2 separate regions of the Homo sapiens genome follow, and region 1 is linked to region 2. Evidence: promoter capture Hi-C in human tissues and cell types (Jung and others, 2019). All regions are on one chromosome and are shown on one strand. The core of a region is centred on a gene start or on the middle of the fragment in contact, and the rest is flanking DNA. Distances in the headings are between cores, read along the strand shown. Region 1 overlaps RC3H1 (ring finger and CCCH-type domains 1). Region 2 holds the start of SERPINC1 (serpin family C member 1).

Region 1 (3,963 bases), core at 1,368-3,867, 54 kb before region 2:
TACTGTATATTTTGCTTATTTGTCTTGGTTATTATCTGGCTCTTCTCCTTGAATATAATGGGGATTTTTGTTTTAATCACTATTGCTTACCCAACAACTAGAACAATAACTCAGATTTAGCAAGTGTTCCAAAAACTACTTTTTTGAATACTTGTTTTCTTCACCTTTTTTCCTTTTCAGATTCCATGTGTCCTTCAAAGCCCAGTTCAAATGCCATCCCCTAGAATTCTTTCAGGGTGTCTGAGCAAGAAGTTATCTCTACATCTCTCTTCTTGTTTCATTTTACATATTTCTTTTAAAGAATATATTTAGCCTTATAGTTAATTTTTCTTTTATAAATCATAGTGCTGGCACTGGGCAAATACCTACTAAATGAAGAAAACATGTAGCAGAGTTACTTTATATGATAGTTCTTCTATTAAACTTTTTTTTTTTTTTTTTGAGATGGAGTTTCTCTCTGTCACCAGGATGGAGTGCAGTGGTGCAATCTCGGCTCACTGCAACCTCCGCCTCCCGGGTTCAAGCGATTCTCCTGCCTCAGCCTCCTAAGTTGCTGGGACTATAGGCGCGTGCCACCATGCCTGGGTAATTTTTGTATTTTTAGTGGAGACGGGGTTTCACAATGCTGGCCAGGATGGTCTCCATCTCTTGATCTTGTGATCTGCCCACCTCGGCCTGCGAAAGTGCTGAGATTACAGGCCTGAGCCACTGTGCCCGGCTTATTAAACTTTTTAAGCTTTTTGTTTACCAAAACTTTATTTATATAAAAGTTCAAAATAAACATGCAAATTGACTAACTGTAGACAGTCCTCAGTTTTGTTTAATCCACACAGTGTTGGTCTGAGCAATGGTCTAAATTTCTTAGATGCCAATATTTTAAAACTGGGAAATTTTTACTTAAAAATCTCAAGTTTCAGGTTTCCCTGGGAAACAGTGAATGTATCTGGCAGTGCCAGCCTTGCATCATCACATAACAACAATCATCTAAAGCTGAGTTATAACCATACTCTTAGATGAGGGACATGCTCCCCAGTTCAGCAGTCCCTGTCACTCGTTGTTGTCTCCTCAACACTGAGAGTCTAATGACAGTTACCACTATTGTGTGGCCTATTTACCTCTTTCATGTTACCTTTCTTGTTCCTATGGTTATTTCAGTTTGCAACCCCAGCTTTGAAAGAATATGTCCATTCCTTTAAAATGATGGTTAGGTGAATAAGCTATTATCTAAAAAGCTAAGGTGTGAAGCTTGATTTCACTGAAATGTTTTCAAGTAACTCTTTTATTAATTTGATATTAGGGAAAATTTTGAGTAACATTAGAGTTTAAAACATTATCATTGGTTGTATAGATGCTCCTCCTCCTACTTGGGAACAGCTGGAAAATGGGCTGGTTGCTGTGCGTACAGTGGTACATGGGCTGGTTGATTATATCCAGAACCACAGCAAAAAAGGAGCAGATCAGCAGCAGGTAAGGAAGCTGTTTAAAACTTAGAGTTAACCCACTGTGGATATGCCTTAAAACTATAGGTAAACCACTGTGGGTATACCTACAGATACAAAGCCAAAAAGATAACATGAACATTTTGAGACTCTGAGTATAGAAACTGTAAATTACCTTGGCATGGTTAACAGTTTACTGCATTAGGCTGATAACTTTATCTGACAATATTGACATTAAATAATCCTTATTGATCTGATGTCATGCTGGGGTCAGTCTTCACATTGGATATGGCAGCATTTGATGGAGAAAATGGATTCAGTGCTGAAGTTTATTCCATTTATATAAGATTATTATTCTCTTTAGTTTGTTTAACATTTTGGTTTGACAATAAGTATCACTTTTTAGTGCTAATACTGTGTCTTTCCAATACTGTTCAAATTTCTATAGATTTTCTTATTAATATTTTAAGATTTTTTTCATTCATAATGTCTTATGCCATTGGGCCAAATCTCCCTCAAAGTTTTTAGATGAAAATACGATGGTAGAATATAATAACTTCTTATAGCTAGAGTTTTAAATTTTATTCCCAGTAATTTTATTTTGCTCTCAGGATTTATATTAGGTTCATTAGATCTTTTATTTTGCAGTAGTAAGCCTGTGAACGTAAAACTCTTAATTTACCTGGTTCAGGTAAATATAAATAGGTTACTCAGTATTCCTTTTTGCTTAAGAGGCAAGAAATATAAAAATTATCCTGCTAAGTAAAATAATCTGGATATGATTTTCCTAACCTATCTAACACAGGTCAAAGCTTTATTTATGAATAGGCATAAAAGAAAGGAGAACCTACAGTTTTTAACTCTCTGTTTCATTAGACATCTTGAAGAAAATAACAAGAGTAATGAGACTAACCTTTAAAGTCTGCCATATAGTGATAAAATACACTAAATTTTGTCCAGTTTAGTGTTGTGTCTCATATTTCATTAACTTTCAAATCCATCCTCCTGCCTTATCCTTGAGTTATAAATAATAAGTGTCATTTGTACTTTTGGAACTATTTTAAGTTCTTCATATATTATTCTGCATGTCAAGAAGAATTAGTTACAGAATATTCTTTGATTATAGGGCCTTTTGTAGTTTTTGTGGTATGTTGTATGGAAACATACATATAGCTATATTGAACATTGTACAAAACAAATATTAGAAGATAATTTATATATTTGAAAGTCTTAAACTACAGTGGTTTGTTTTTTCATTATAAAATGTGGAAATGGGCTGGGCACAGTGGCTCACACCTGTAATCCCAAGCACTTTGGGAGGCTGAGGCAGGCGGATCATTTGAGGTCAGGAGTTTGAGACCAGCCTGGCTAACATGATGAAACCCTGTCTCTACTAAAAATACAAAAATTAGCCAGGTGCGGTGGTGGACACCTGTAATCCCAGCTACTCAGGAGGCTGAGGCAGGAGAATCGCTTGAGCCGGGGAGGTGGAAGTTGCAGTGAGCCAAGATTGCGCCGCTGCCCTCCAGCCCGGGCAACAGAGTAAGACTCCTTCTCAAAAAAAAAAAAAAAAAAAGTGGAAATGAGATCATAGTGTCCCCATGAGCTTTTTCTTTTTCCATATAATACAAGTATAAGAATGCCCATGAGATTTATTCAAGAATTTATATTATGCTACTTGTTTGAGAATTAATATCAACATATCAGAAAAATTAGGACTACCTTCTTTGTTTTTGCTTTATTTATATTTGGACTTTGAAACTTCAGACAGAATGACTTTCCAGCACTTTTGCTCTTGGTAATCTAAATAAATATGTGAATTACTTATCTAGATTATCAAGATCCTAAAATGACAACACAAAATTTATGTTTTTTTGTGGGGGGTTATTACACATCTAATGTTTTGATTTTGGTTTTAGCCTCCACAGCATAGCAAATACAAAACATACATGTGTCGAGATATGAAGCAGAGAGGAGGATGCCCTCGTGGGGCCAGCTGTACATTTGCACACTCACAGGAGGAACTGGAAAAGTAAGTGTGAAAGTCAGGAGACTTTGGAATAAGGTGTAAGTGGAATAATTCGCTGACATACAGAAATACAGAAAGAGTAGCTGCTTTATCTTAAATGAATAGGACATTTTTAGAATGTAACACAGCTTGAACATTCCTATTCTGAAAATCTGAAATGCTTCAAAATCCAAAAATGCTTGAAAGCCAACTTGACACCACAAGTTGAAAATTCCACACTTGACCTTGTGATGGATAGCAGTCAAAACTTCATGCACAAAATTATTTAAAATAATGTATAAAATTACTTTCAGACTATGTGTAAAAGATGTATATGAAATATAAATGAATTTCATGTTATATATTTGGGTCTTATCCCCAAGACATCTCCTTATGTATATGCAAATATTCCAAAATCCAAGACAAATCCAAATCTTGAAACACTTCTGGTCTCAAGCATTTCGGGTAAGAGATATTCAACCTGTACATAATTTTTAAAAATGAAAAGCAGTTTCT
Region 2 (4,178 bases), core at 1,635-4,134:
ATCCTAGCACTTTGGGAGGCCAAGGCAGACGGATCACTTGAGGTCAGGAGTTTGAGACCAGCCTGGCCAACATGGTGAAAACCCGTCTCTACTAAAAATACAAAAAAAATTGCCAAGCATGGTGGAAGGGGCCTGTAATCCCAGCTACTTGGGAGGTTGAGTCACGAGAATCTCTAGAACCTGGGAGGCAGAGGTTGGAGGTGGGCTGAGATCAGGCCACTGCACTCCAGCCTGGGCGACAGAGTGAGACTCCGTCTCAAACAAAAAAAAGAAGAAGAAGAAGAAAAGAATATGCACCAGGCAGAGTGGCTTACACCTGTATGGAGTCTCGCTCTGTCATCCAGGCTAGAGTGCAGTGGCGTAATCTCGACTCACTGCAGCCTCCACCTCCCGGGTTCAAGTGATTCTCCTGCCTCAGCCTCCTGAGTAGCTGAGATTACAGGTGCATACCACCATGCCCAGCTAATTTTTTTTTTATTTTTTAGTAGAGACAGGGTTTCACTGTCTTGGCCAGGCTGGTCTCAAACCCCTGACCTCAAGTGATCTGCCCACCTCAGCCTCCCAAACTGCTGGGATTACAGGCGTGAGCCACCACGCCTGGCAGAACACTTTTAAAATATATATATAATTTAATTTTTAACATTTGAGACAGGGGCTCACTCTGTCACCAAGGCTGGAGTGCAGTGGTGTGATCACAGCTCACTGCAGTCTGAATTCCTGGGCTCAAGTGATCCTCCCACCTCAGCCTCCTGAGTAGCTGGGACTACAGGCTCATGCCACCATGCCCAGCTTATTATTATTATTTTCTGGAGATGGGGGTCTCACCGTGTGTGGGGTCTCACAGTTGGTCTTGAACTCCTGGCCTCAAGCCTTGGCCTTCCAAAGTGCTAGGATTACAGATGTGAGCCACTGCATCCAGCCTGGATGAACAAATTAAACACAAACCCTGATGTTATAGTTCTTAATTCCTTGACCTGGTAGTATCTGCATCCTAATCTTTTCCAGCGATGTTCACCAAATCACCTATATTTTTGCAGGGCCCCTCATCTGCCCTCCCCCAAGGACCTTCTTGGCAAGACACAAACCTCATAACTCCTATAAGCTGGAACAATAGGTCTCAACAGCATGTTCCTGAAACCTCAAGGTCTTTGTATTTCTGATTTCTCTTTGGACAGCTCTTCCTAAAGATATTCATATGGCCCCCTCCATCATTTCATTCTGGTTTCCTAACAATGATTCCTAAGGGAGGCCTTTCCTACCAAGTGTTCTCAGATGGTGCCCTCCCCACTTCCTCCCACTGCTTCCTATATCCTTGCCCTGCTATAGTTTTCTCTATGGACCTTATTAACATCTGACTGGCACGTTACATATTTATTTTTTAAATACTGATTTTTTTTTTTTGAGATGGAGTCTTGCTCTGTCACCCAGGCTGGAGTGCAATAGCACGATCTCGGCTCACTGCAACCTCTGCCTCCTGGGGTCAAGTGATTCTCCTGCCTCAGCCTCCTGAGTAGCTGGAATTACAGGTGCCCACCACCATGCCCAGCTATTTTTTGTATTTTTAGTAGAGATGGGGTTTCACCAGGTTGGCTAGGCCGGTCTCGAACTCCTGACCTCAGGTGATCCACCTGCCTCAGCCTACCAAAGTGCTGGGATTACAGGTGTGAGCCACCACGCTTGGCCTAAAATACTGATTCTTTATGTGATTGCTGTATGTCTCCCCCGAATGGAATCCCAGCCCCAAGAACAGTGTCTGCTGGCACAAGCAGCACTCGTGTATTTGTTGAACTCAAGTGGTTGAACAGGAGACTTTTCAATAGTCTTTAATCTAGGGTGACAGATGAGCCTCTGGGCATTCTGGGGCCCTTTGGGACAGTTCTCGGCTACTGTTCACACTGCACATGGAGGGCTTCAAAGGATCCAGGGTCTGAATCAGCCAAGAACTTAGACACAGCTTCAGTTCAGGAGAGATGTCCTCTCTCATGAACGAAGAGCTCTCGAAAATGCCTATGACTGCAACAACAACTACAAGGAGTCCTTGATCACACAGCAGGAGGCACATGCGCCCTGTGAACTTGGTGGCTGCAGTCCTTGTGATGGTGCTTTTGGCTATTTCAGAAGAGGGAAATGTAAACAAACCTGCCCTTTATCTCCACTAGTTTGAATTTACCCAATCTCCCCAATAACTAATAAAAATAACGATACACATAAATATAATTTAGTTTGTTTTTATTTCAGCAGTTGTACGTGGGTTTTTCACCTGCCCCGCATTCTGTCTCCTGATCCCCCAGTAGAGTTTTGCTAAGTATTTCCCAGCTGCTCACACCCCTTAGAAACGCGCTTGGCATGCACCCCGAGGCCCTGCTCTTCTCTCCCTGTCCCACCACTTCAGGGCTGCTGGGGAATGGGTCTCTCTGTGGGCCACAGGTGTAACCATTGTGTTTTCCTTGTCTGTGCCAGGGACACCTTGGCACTCAGATGCCTGAAGGTAGCAGCTTGTCCCTCTTTGCCTTCTCTAATTAGATATTTCTCTCTCTCTCTCCCTCTCTCCATAAAGAAAACTATGAGAGAGGGTGGGTATGAACCAAGTTTGTTTCCTTGGTTAGTTTCCTAACCAAGTTTGAGGGTATGAACATACTCTCCTTTTCCTTTTCTATAAAGCTGAGGAGAAGAGTGAGGGAGTGTGGGCAAGAGAGGTGGCTCAGGCTTTCCCTGGGCCTGATTGAACTTTAAAACTTCTCTACTAATTAAACAACACTGGGCTCTACACTTTGCTTAACCCTGGGAACTGGTCATCAGCCTTTGACCTCAGTTCCCCCTCCTGACCAGCTCTCTGCCCCACCCTGTCCTCTGGAACCTCTGCGAGATTTAGAGGAAAGAACCAGTTTTCAGGCGGATTGCCTCAGATCACACTATCTCCACTTGCCCAGCCCTGTGGAAGATTAGCGGCCATGTATTCCAATGTGATAGGAACTGTAACCTCTGGAAAAAGGTAAGAGGGGTGAGCTTTCCCCTTGCCTGCCCCTACTGGGTTTTGTGACCTCCAAAGGACTCACAGGAATGACCTCCAACACCTTTGAGAAGACCAGGCCCTCTCCCTGGTAGTTACAGTCAAAGACCTGTTTGGAAGACGTCATTTCAAGTGCTCTCCCTCCCACCCCACCTCTTGGGGTAAGGCCTTTCCTAAGCTACCCCTTGGGTCCCTAGCCTAAGAAACAAGGGGGATGTCATCCCTGGTGTAAAGATGCTGTGCAGGAAGTCAGCACTCACGGGATCCAGGGGACGCTCCAAGGGGAATCCCCAGGGCCTGCCATCCATCCGGGAAGAGAGCAAATGCTACCCATGAGGACCTCCTCACTCCCTTTTTGCTCTTTCTTCCACTCAGATCCACCCCACTCCACCCCCACCCAAATCCCAGTGACCTTTGACTAAAGGGCCAAAACTGCTTCCTTTTCTCACAATGAGAGTTGTCCCTCCCTCAATGCCACACACACTCCCTTCTTCATCTGAGTTGTCACAGGAGGCTAGAAACGGGGTGGTGGCACAACTGTCTTGGTTTTAATTTGTGCTTCATAGCCCTCCCAGGGTCCTCTCAGCCTCAAATTGCATTTCCAAATGTAGTTGAAGGACAGAGTGGGCAACCGAAGGCAGTGGAGATGGGAAGATGAATGGCAGGGTCCTCTCCTCTCTCTCTCTGCTTCTTCAGCCTGCCTTCCACATCTCCCTTGGTGCCGCTGCTTCTCTCCGGCTTTGCACCTCTGTTCTTGAAAGGGCTGCAGAACTGGACTCAGACCACGCAAGAAGGCAAGTCCCCCTCAGCTGCCCCAGCTTCCAGCCAGCCCCAGGCTTGCCCAACGGACCACGTCCGTGAATCTGCACTGGGTGCCTGTCTTTCTCTCCCAGGAGAAGATGGGAAGATCCAGTACCCACACACAGACCCCCTTGTGTACACGCAGGAACCATAAACCAGCTGGAGGCAGCCCCTGCCCCACCCTGTCTTATCTACAAAAAATATTACAAGAGACTTTATCTCTTGATTTGCTTCATCGAGTGTCCCAACTACCTCATTTTTTTAAAATGTGAAATTAGCTTCATTTACCTTCATTGAATCCATGTTGGCGACTATTAAAAATTCCAGGCAATAAAAAGGGATGAGAGCCTGAACTAAAGCAGTGGCA

Evidence for each region. The method cuts DNA at HindIII sites, captures the fragments that hold promoters and counts their contacts. A contact is called where the count stands out against the background at its distance.
Region 1: a fragment that was not itself captured here is called in contact with the fragment with the promoter of SERPINC1 in region 2 in 1 of the 25 tissues and cell types used here (bladder).

The regions. Positions count from the first base shown.
Region 1 is chr1:173,970,013-173,973,975 of GRCh38, reverse strand. RC3H1 (ring finger and CCCH-type domains 1) reads left to right here. Exons shown (of 20, transcript NM_172071.4): 8 at 1,349-1,467; 9 at 3,359-3,471. Among named protein-coding and RNA genes, the nearest start is that of RC3H1, 50 kb to the left of the region's middle. The HindIII fragment of the contact is 3,252 bases long and covers 992-3,963 here.
Region 2 is chr1:173,916,033-173,920,210 of GRCh38, reverse strand. It overlaps SERPINC1 (serpin family C member 1), which reads left to right and starts at 2,884. Exons shown (of 7, transcript NM_000488.4): 1 at 2,884-2,992. The coding sequence starts at 2,952. LOC124904457 (a long non-coding RNA gene) reads right to left here and starts at 3,711. Exons shown (of 2, transcript XR_007066739.1): 1 at 3,271-3,711. The HindIII fragment of the contact is 9,559 bases long and covers 1-4,178 here.